3 separate regions of the Homo sapiens genome follow, and regions 2 and 3 are each linked to region 1. The links are contacts of gene promoters, found by promoter capture Hi-C in blood cells and fetal thymus (Javierre and others, 2016). All regions are on one chromosome and are shown on one strand. The core of a region is centred on a gene start or on the middle of the fragment in contact, and the rest is flanking DNA. Distances in the headings are between cores, read along the strand shown.

Evidence for each region. Contacts are between HindIII fragments. The CHiCAGO score rates a contact against its expected background, and 5 or more counts as called.
Region 2: a contact is called between a fragment that was not itself captured here and the fragment with the promoter of PLBD2 in region 1, in 14 of 17 cell types (fetal thymus, naive CD4 T cells, naive B cells and 11 more). The highest score is 13.3, in fetal thymus.
Region 3: a fragment that was not itself captured here is called in contact with the fragment with the promoter of PLBD2 in region 1 in 3 of 17 cell types (fetal thymus, total CD8 T cells and neutrophils); the score reaches 6.5 in fetal thymus.

What each region holds. Positions count from the first base shown.
Region 1 is chr12:113,357,201-113,360,197 of GRCh38, forward strand. PLBD2 (phospholipase B domain containing 2) reads left to right here and starts at 1,387. Exons shown (of 12, transcript NM_173542.4): 1 at 1,387-1,690. The coding sequence starts at 1,401. It overlaps LOC105369989 (a long non-coding RNA gene), which reads right to left and starts at 2,310. Exons shown (of 3, transcript XR_945346.3): 1 at 2,130-2,310. RefSeq lists silencers at 1,201-1,700, 1,751-1,810 and an enhancer at 2,146-2,645. The HindIII fragment of the contact is 3,133 bases long and covers 1-2,997 here.
Region 2 is chr12:113,187,186-113,189,925 of GRCh38, forward strand. All of the region lies in intron 3 of RITA1 (RBPJ interacting and tubulin associated 1), which reads left to right. Among named protein-coding and RNA genes, the nearest start is that of RITA1, 2.8 kb to the left of the region's middle. RefSeq lists an enhancer at 1-177. The HindIII fragment of the contact is 2,224 bases long and covers 215-2,438 here.
Region 3 is chr12:113,168,757-113,171,505 of GRCh38, forward strand. It overlaps DDX54 (DEAD-box helicase 54), which reads right to left. Exons shown (of 20, transcript NM_024072.4): 12 at 1,014-1,148. Among named protein-coding and RNA genes, the nearest start is that of MIR7106, 11 kb to the left of the region's middle. The HindIII fragment of the contact is 648 bases long and covers 1,169-1,816 here.

The DNA.
Region 1 (2,997 bases), core at 137-2,636:
ACGTTGAAATAAACATCCTCCTGTTCTCTCATATTGGTCTCTCCGTTCCTCAGTTTCCCACAACAGGACTACAGGTGTGCACCACCAAGCTCAGCTAATTTTTATATTTTATAGAGACAGAGTCTTGCCAGGTTTCCTAGGCTGGTCTCAAACTCCTGGGCTCAAGCATTCCTCCCACCTTGGCCACCCAAAGTGCTGTGATTACAGGCATGAACCACTCACCTGGCCTTCCCTCTCAAATTTTAAGAGTTCCTGATATATTATATGATATATGTTGAGATATATATACATATATATATGTAATGTATATATATGATATATGTTGCAAATAGTTTCTCCTGGTCTGTCAGATGTCTTTTGACTTTGCTTATTGAGTTTTTTGACATGAAAAAGTTAAAAAATTTATACAGTCAAATGCATTAATCTTTTATTGCATCTAGGTTTTTTTTTTTTTTTTTTTCTTTTGAGACAAGGTCTCATTCTGGTTGCTCAGGCTGGAGTGCAGTGGTGCAATCTCGACTCTCTGCAGCCTCGACCTTCCGGGCTCAGGTGATTTTCCTACCTCAGTCTCCCGAGTAGCTGGGACTATAGGCGCGCCTCACTGCGTCCGGCTACTTTTTTGTATTTTTAGTAGAGACGGGGGTTTCACCATGTTGCCCAGGCTGGTCTTGAACTCCTGAACTCGCCCGCCCTGGCCTCCTGGAGTGTTGGGATTACAGGCGTGAGCCACCGCGCCCGACGGCATCTAGGTTTTGAGTAGTAGTTAGACAGCTTTTTCCCACACACATGTAAAAAGGGTATTTGAGGGACAATGGGAAAAGTTGGAATAAAGACTGCATTAGATAACTGTATTAAATAAATGGCAAATACCATTAAATAAATCTGGCCGGGCGCGGTGGCTCACCCCTGTAATCCCAGCACTTTGGGAGGCTGAGGCAGGCGGATCACCTGAGGTCAGGAGTTCAAGACCAGCCTGGCCAACATGGCGAAACCCCGTCTGTACTGAAATTACATAAATCAGCTGGGCGTGGTGGTGCGCGCCTGTAATCCCACCTACTCAGGAGGATGAGGCAGGAGAATCGCTTGAACCCGGGAGGCGGAGGTGGCAATGAGCCGAGATCGCGTCACTGCACTCCAGTCTGGGCGACATATGGAGGTTTTGTCTTGTCTCAAAAAAAAAAAAAAAAAAAAACTTGGGGAAGTGTGCTAAACCGGGTTTGCGTAGGTGGAAGGGGCGGCCGGGCTCTTTAAGGTGGGTCCCGCCCCGTAGGCCTCCCCTCGCGCCAGCCCCTCCCATCCCGGAAAGGCTCAGCCCAAGCCCGGCCCCGCCCGCCCTCGGCCCCGCCCATGGCAGAGCGCAGTCACGTGACCCGGGCTGCGGGGCGCAGCATTGTGCGGTCATGGTGGGCCAGATGTACTGCTACCCCGGCAGCCACCTGGCCCGGGCGCTGACGCGGGCGCTGGCGCTGGCCCTGGTGCTGGCCCTGCTGGTCGGGCCGTTCCTGAGCGGCCTGGCGGGGGCGATCCCAGCGCCGGGGGGCCGCTGGGCGCGCGATGGGCAGGTCCCTCCAGCCTCCCGCAGCCGCTCGGTGCTCCTGGACGTCTCGGCGGGCCAGCTGCTTATGGTGGACGGACGCCACCCTGACGCCGTGGCCTGGGCCAACCTCACCAACGCCATCCGCGAGACTGGGTAAGGGTTGGCTTATCCCCACGCGGGGCCATCGGGGGAGGGGGATGCGTGGGCGCCGGACCTCGCCTGTTCCCGGGACCGGCCTCTTGCCGGGTGGGAACGCCCGTTTCTCTGGGGGTCAGCTACTCCCGAGGCTGCAGCACCGCCCTGCGGGCCAAGTACCCTGTTTGGGAGCTGGCTACTGCGGCATCCCTCACCTCATGGGGCCAGTCCCTTGCCTTCAGCCAGTGGTGACAGTACTTCTGTCCCCAAGAAGCCAGTTCCCTACCACCGAGGCCGCAGTGCCTGCATCTGGATCAGGTCCATGGCTGGTGGGTAAATTCTATCCTCACGGGGACCTGCTCCCTTCCCTAGACTTTGCCTCCTCACCCCATGGAGGCCAGCCCCCTGTCCCCAGGCCTGAGGGGTGATGAGAACTCAGCAGGAGACTAATTCTTACCTGCTTGGCTGTGGCTTGCTCGTGGGTGCCAGCACCCTGCCTCCCTTCCAGTGCCAGGTCAGCAGGACTGAACCTGGGTTCCAGGCTAGTCCAAAAGCAGAGGGTCCCTAAAGTCACATAGACCCATTTAGTATCCTGCTAGGGCTCTGCTCCTCCCTTGTCTTCTGTGTCCTGGTCCAAGGGGAAGTCCTTGGCTGGATGCCGTGTTTGGCAGCCATGCTCACCATCTTTATTGCTGGAACCCAGGCTGTCATTCTGATGTGTGAGTCTCACCTAACTCCTCCGCCTGTCTGGGCTCCCGTTTCCCCATCTGTGGCCCAGATTTTGAGGATGTGCTCTAGTTGGGTGGTCATGTGCTGCAAGTTCTGTACAAGGGCTTGTGCCCATTCATTTATTCATTACCCTGATGGTTGGCCTTAGGGACACAGCTGAGCAGCTGTCTCTACTCAGTGGGAAACACAGACAGCGATAGAAGAGAAATCAGAGTCAGTGGGAGTGGGAAGGATCAGCTTCAAAGCCTTGTCAGCAGGGCCCAGACGCTGGATCAGGCTGTGCTGGGGGATCCTAGGGAACCCGGGGTGCATCCGTCATATCCTAGTGTCCAGATGATGCTAGGGAACCCTAGCACTAGGATGTGCCCAGGATGTGGTCTGTGCTCAGACCACACTGCCCCCTGCAGCAGAAAGGGCCTCCTCCCACTTTAGCCCCTATCCATTTTACTGGCATCCATTGGCTTCTGCAGGTGTTAGGGAGACACAGGATGCCGAGGACACCCCCATTCTGGTGGCACTTGGGGGGTACATCAAGTAGACGTGAGATTTGGGGGAGATATTTGCACAGACACAGGGGCACTGGTTGGGGTAAATCT
Region 2 (2,740 bases), core at 77-2,576, 170 kb before region 1:
GGACCAATTATTCCTACCTAGGGGGATTGTTGATGGATTAAATGAGAGAGGGGTCTGCAGTGCTTCGCACAGTAACCTAATACTTAGAAAGCTGTCAATAAATGGTAGTGTTGATGGTTGTGATGGTGAACTCCCTATCCCCAAATGTCACAAACTGGGCATCTGAGGCCCAGAGGAGTCAGCTGAGGCATAAGATCACAGAGAAATTTGCATAAGCTTATTAATATTAATGTGTTCGATCCTTGAAATGACATAGATGTGGTGTTTCTGAAGTCATTTTGAAAATGGGTTTTGGCCACATGGGGTAGCTCATGCCTGTAATCCCAGAACGTTTGGAGGTTGAGGTGGGATCACTTGAGCTCAGGAGTTTGAGACCAGCCTGGGCAGCGTGGTGAAACTGTGTCTCTATAAAAAATGCAAAAATTAGCCAAGTGTGGTGGTGTGCGCCTGTACTCCCAGCTCCCGGGAGGCTGAGGTGGGAGGATCACTTGAGCCTAGGAGGCAGAGATTGCAATGAGCTGAGATCACGCCTCTGCACTCCAGCCTGAGTGACAGAGTGAGACCCTGTCTCCAAAAAAAAAAAAAAAAAAAAATTGAAAATGGTTCTTGCTGCATTTTTATGAACAAGTTAGAAAAATAGGAACTAATGCAAATTGTTATTGTTGTTAATTAATTAGATTAGAATTAGATTATTTGGACTGTTTCAGATTAATATCAGCCTGGAGGGAGGTGTCTAGTGGTGAGCCACAGGGCTCTGTCCTGTTTATTGTTATCAGTGGTTTGGACAAAGACACAGAAGATTAGCACAGTAGTTGGCTAGGGCCACCATGACAAAATACCACAGACTGGGTGGCTTAAACAACACAATTTTTTTTTTTTTTGAGATGGAGTCTCGCTCTGTTGCCCAGGCTGGAGTGCAGTGGCACGATCTTGGCTCACCACAACCTCCACCTCCCGGGTTCAAGCGACTCTCCTGCCTCAGTCTCCTGAGTAGCTGGGACTACAGGCACATGCCACCATGCCTGACTTAATTTTTTTTTTTTTTTTTTGAGACGGAGTTTTGCTCTTGTTGCCCAGGCTGGAGTGCAGTGGAGCCATCTCAGCTAACCTGAACCTCTGCCTCCCAGGTTCAAGCGATTCTCCTGCCTCACCCTCCCTGGTAGCTGGGATTACGCCACCATGCCTGGCTAATTTTGTATTTTTAGTAGAGACGGGGTTTCTCCATGTTGGTCAGGCTGATCTTGAACTCCCGACCAGGTGATCCACCTGCCTTGGCCTCCCGAAGTGCTGGGATTACAGGCATGAGCCACCGCGCCTGGCCACAACACAAATTTATTTTGTCACAGTCTGGAGGCTGGAAGCCCAAGATCAAGGTGTTGGCAGGTTTGGTTTCTCCTGAGGCCTCTCTCCTTGGCTTGCAGTTGGCCACGTTCTCACAGTGTCATCATAGGGCCTTTTCTCATTTTTTTTTAATCCTTCAATTACATGCAAGGGCCTTTTCTGTATACACACACACCCCTGATGTCTCTTCCTCTCATAAGGACACCAGTTCTATTGGATTAGGATCCCCTACCCTTATAATGTTATTTAGCCTTAGTTACCTTTTTTTTTTTTTTTTTTTTTTTTTTTTTTTTTTTTTTTTTGAGATGGAGTCTGGCTCTGTCGCCCAGGCTGGAGTGCAGTGGCACCATCTCGGATCACTGCAGCCTCCACCTCCGGGTTCAAGGAATTCTCCTGCCTCAGCCTCCCGAGTAGCTGGCATTACAGGTGCACGCCACCATGCCTGGCTAATTTTTGTATTTTTAGTAGAGACGGGGTTTCACTGTGTTGGCCAGGCTGGTCTCAAACTCCTGAGCTCAAGTCGTTCTCCCGCCTCTGCTTTCCAAAGTGCTGGAATTACAGATGTGAGCCACCATGTCTGGCCAGCCTTAATTACCTTTAATTAATCTAAATAATTAAGGCCAAGTGTAGAGACATTTGGGGTTAGGGCTTCAACATATGAATTTGGGTGGGCACAATTCAGTCCATAAGAACTGGCCAGCTAAAGTTAGGGTTCATTCTGAACCACAGGGACATATTTCAGATGAGAGAAATGAAATGAGAATGGGAATGATACCTATTATAAAAACAAGAATCAGTTATTGCCAGTTCTGTAGACAAGGCAGGGTCAGGTGGAGATTAGCAACACTGATACCTACAACATGGCTGAAAACACTGAGGTAAAGATAGGCTGCATTAGGAAGTATGGTGTCCATGAAAAGGGAGGTGACAACTCCTTGCTCACCTGGAGGGTGGAATTTTCTTCTGGATGCCAACAGGTAGAGGGTGTCAAGTGAGGGGTTGCATAAGAGGTAGAGAAGTTATTGAGCAAAAACCTTGGCACCAGACATATACAGGCATTAGCCAATGTGGTTTGAGCAGCTAAACCAAGTGGCAAAAGCTTGCCCTTTCAAAGACTTGCAGTTTGGGGATAGAAGCACTTTCAGTCCTGGCCAAAAAAACTATGGGCGTGGAATCTTGCAGGTATGCCGTGAATATCTGTTGAATAAAAAAAAAAAAAAAAAAAAAGGCCAGACAGGCTGACTCAGGCCTGTAGTCCCAGCACTTTGGGAGGCTGAGGTGGGAGGATCGCTTGAGCTCCAGAGTTTGAGACCAGCCTGGGCAACATAGTGAGATCCCTGTCTCTACAAAAAATAAAAATATTAGCAGGGCATAGTGGTGCATACCTGTAGTCCCAGCT
Region 3 (2,749 bases), core at 243-2,742, 190 kb before region 1:
CCTGTCTCTACTAAAAATACAAAATTAGCTGGGCGTGGTTGTGTGTGCCTGCAGTCCCAGCTACTCGGGAGGCTGAGGCAGGAGAATCGCTTGAACCCAGGATGCGGAGGTTGTGGTGAGCCAAGATTGCACCACTGCACTCCAGCCTGGGCAACAAGAGCGAAACTCTGTCTCAATAAATAAATTAAAAATGTCCTGTGGGCTTGGTCTGAATGAGCCTCAGCCTCTCTTTCCCTCCGCTGCGCTCCCCTGAAAACTCATCAAGTATAGGGTCACACACTAGATGCCTGCAGGGGCTGGGCAGGCCACACTGACAGGAAGGGGAGGCAGGCAGGGGCTGCAGGGGACCAGGAAGCCTGTCTAATGGGGGTGCCACAGCTTAGCACCCAGATCCAACTGTTTCCCAGTAGATACCAGAAATCTGGATTGTTGTGGGAAATCCTGAGTTTAAAATAGAGGGATTAGCCAGGCATAGTGGCTTGCTTGAGCCCAGGAGTTGGAAGTTGCAGCGAGCCATGATCGCACCACTGCACTCCAGCCTGAGCAAGAGTAAGACCCCGTCTCGTTAAAAAATAGAAGGAATCAGCCGGGCGCAGTGACTCACACCTGTAATCCCAGCACTTTGGGAGGTGGGCGAATCACTTGAGGTCAGGAGTTCGAGATCAGCCTGGCCAACATGGTGAAACCTTGTCTCTACTAAAAATACAATAAAAAATTTGCCAGGCGTGGTGGCGGGCATCTATAGTCCCAGCTACTCGGGAGGCTGAGGCAAGAGAATGGCTTGAACCTGGGAGGCAGAGGTTGCTGTGAGCCAAGATCACACCACTGCACCCCAGCCTGGGCAACAGAGCGAGGCTCTGTCTCAAAAAATAAACAAAACAAATAAAATACAATAAAATAAATAAAAGGAATCATCTTCTGCTGGGGTCAAACCCAGCCCTACCTCCTCCCACAGCCAAAACAGGGCCCATGAACTCCACGGGGACCCCTATCCCCACCCAGCCTCCACTCACCTGAGGGCTCCTTGAGGGGTCGGGCGAGGGTGAGGGAGCGGCCCAGGAACAGGTGCAGATCCAGCAGGTAGGGGATTTCATCAGGGGCCACCAAGGAGTAGGCTGTGCCACTTCGGCCAGCCCGAGCCACACGGCCTGCAGCAAGGAGACGTTCAAGCTTAATTAAGCAAAGAAGGACCCGGACCCAGCATGAGTTCCACAGGCCAGACCCTGAGCAGGTGAGCCTGGCCAAGCCTCGAACCTCACACGGCTGCTGTCCCCACCTACGCACAGGGAAGTTTAATCCCGGTCCCTAGGTTGATCTGTGAGAGTGTGCCCAAGCTGACACAGTGCTCTGGGAGACTAGCAAAAATACAGCAAGGCCCTGCTCATGAGCATGATCAAAACTCTTCAGTGTCCCCACTTTTGAGAATTCCCCGCAAAGATGTAAAGATTCACACACAAGGAGGTTTAGTGTGGCCCTGACTAGGACAGCCCCAAGTTGGAAACTAAAGTCTCAAGGGTAGAGGACTAGATAAGTGAATTAGCTGATGGCCACACAGTGGGAATTAAACAGCTCAGGAAAAGAGTGGGCAAACTGCAGCCTACAGGGCCAGGCTGGTGGCTCACGCCTGTAATCACAGCACTTTGAGGGGCTGAGGTGGGAGAATCACTTGAGGCCAGGAGTTCGAGAACAGCCTGGGCAAAATAGCAAGACCCCATGTCTACAAAAAACGAAAATTAGCCAGATGTGATGGTGTGTGCCTGTAGCCCTAAGTACTTGGGAGGCTGAGCTGGGAGGATTGCTTGAATCTGGGAGTTCAAGCTTACAGTGAGCTATGATCATGCCACAGCACTAGAGCCCAAGCAACAGAGTGAGATCCCGGCCCCCTGCTTGTCTGTGTAAATAAAGATTTATTGGAACACAGCCACACTCATTTGTTTATATATTATCTATATAAATGAATAGGCAGCAGTCACACGACAGCAGCAGAGATGAACAGTTATGACAGAGACAGTATGGTCCACAAAGCCTAACGTTTCATGTCTAGCCCCTTACAGAAAAGATGTGCCAACCCATCACAGAATGACATTTCATAGTAAACGAAAAACATTCGTGATGTATGGTGATGTAAAAAGAAAAAAACAAAAAGCCAGTTATAAAAAAGAACACCCAATATGATTGCAATTTTGCATGAAGTACCTAAATCACTACATAGCATTATATTTTGGTTTGTCTCTGTATCTTGGGAAAACAAGGTGTTATGACATTTGGAGATTTCATTTGAGGTTGTCTGACCGGCACTGTTGGTCTTGTGAGGCACAAGAAATTCCCTTTGGGGGCGTCCTGGGGACCTCCCTAGGGACATGCAGAACCAGCTCTCCACACAGCAACAGAAACTAGGGGACAGCAGACAGCAACAAGGGGGAAGTGCACCCACCACATGACACTTATGAATTAAAAGAAGGCAAAGAAAGTAGAATAACAGTTACCAGGGGCTGCGGGAGGGGAATAAGGAGATTTTGTCTGACGGATAGAGCTTCAATTTTGCAAGATGGAAAAGTTCTGGGGCCAAGCATGGTGGCTCACGCCTGTAATCACAGCACTTTGGGAGGCTGAGGCAGATGCATCACTTGAGGTTAGGAGTTCAAGACCACCTTGGCCAACATGGTGAAACCCCTGTCTCTACTAAAAACACAAAAAATTAGCTGGGCCTGGTGGCGAGCACCTGTAATCCCAGCTACTCGGGAGGCTG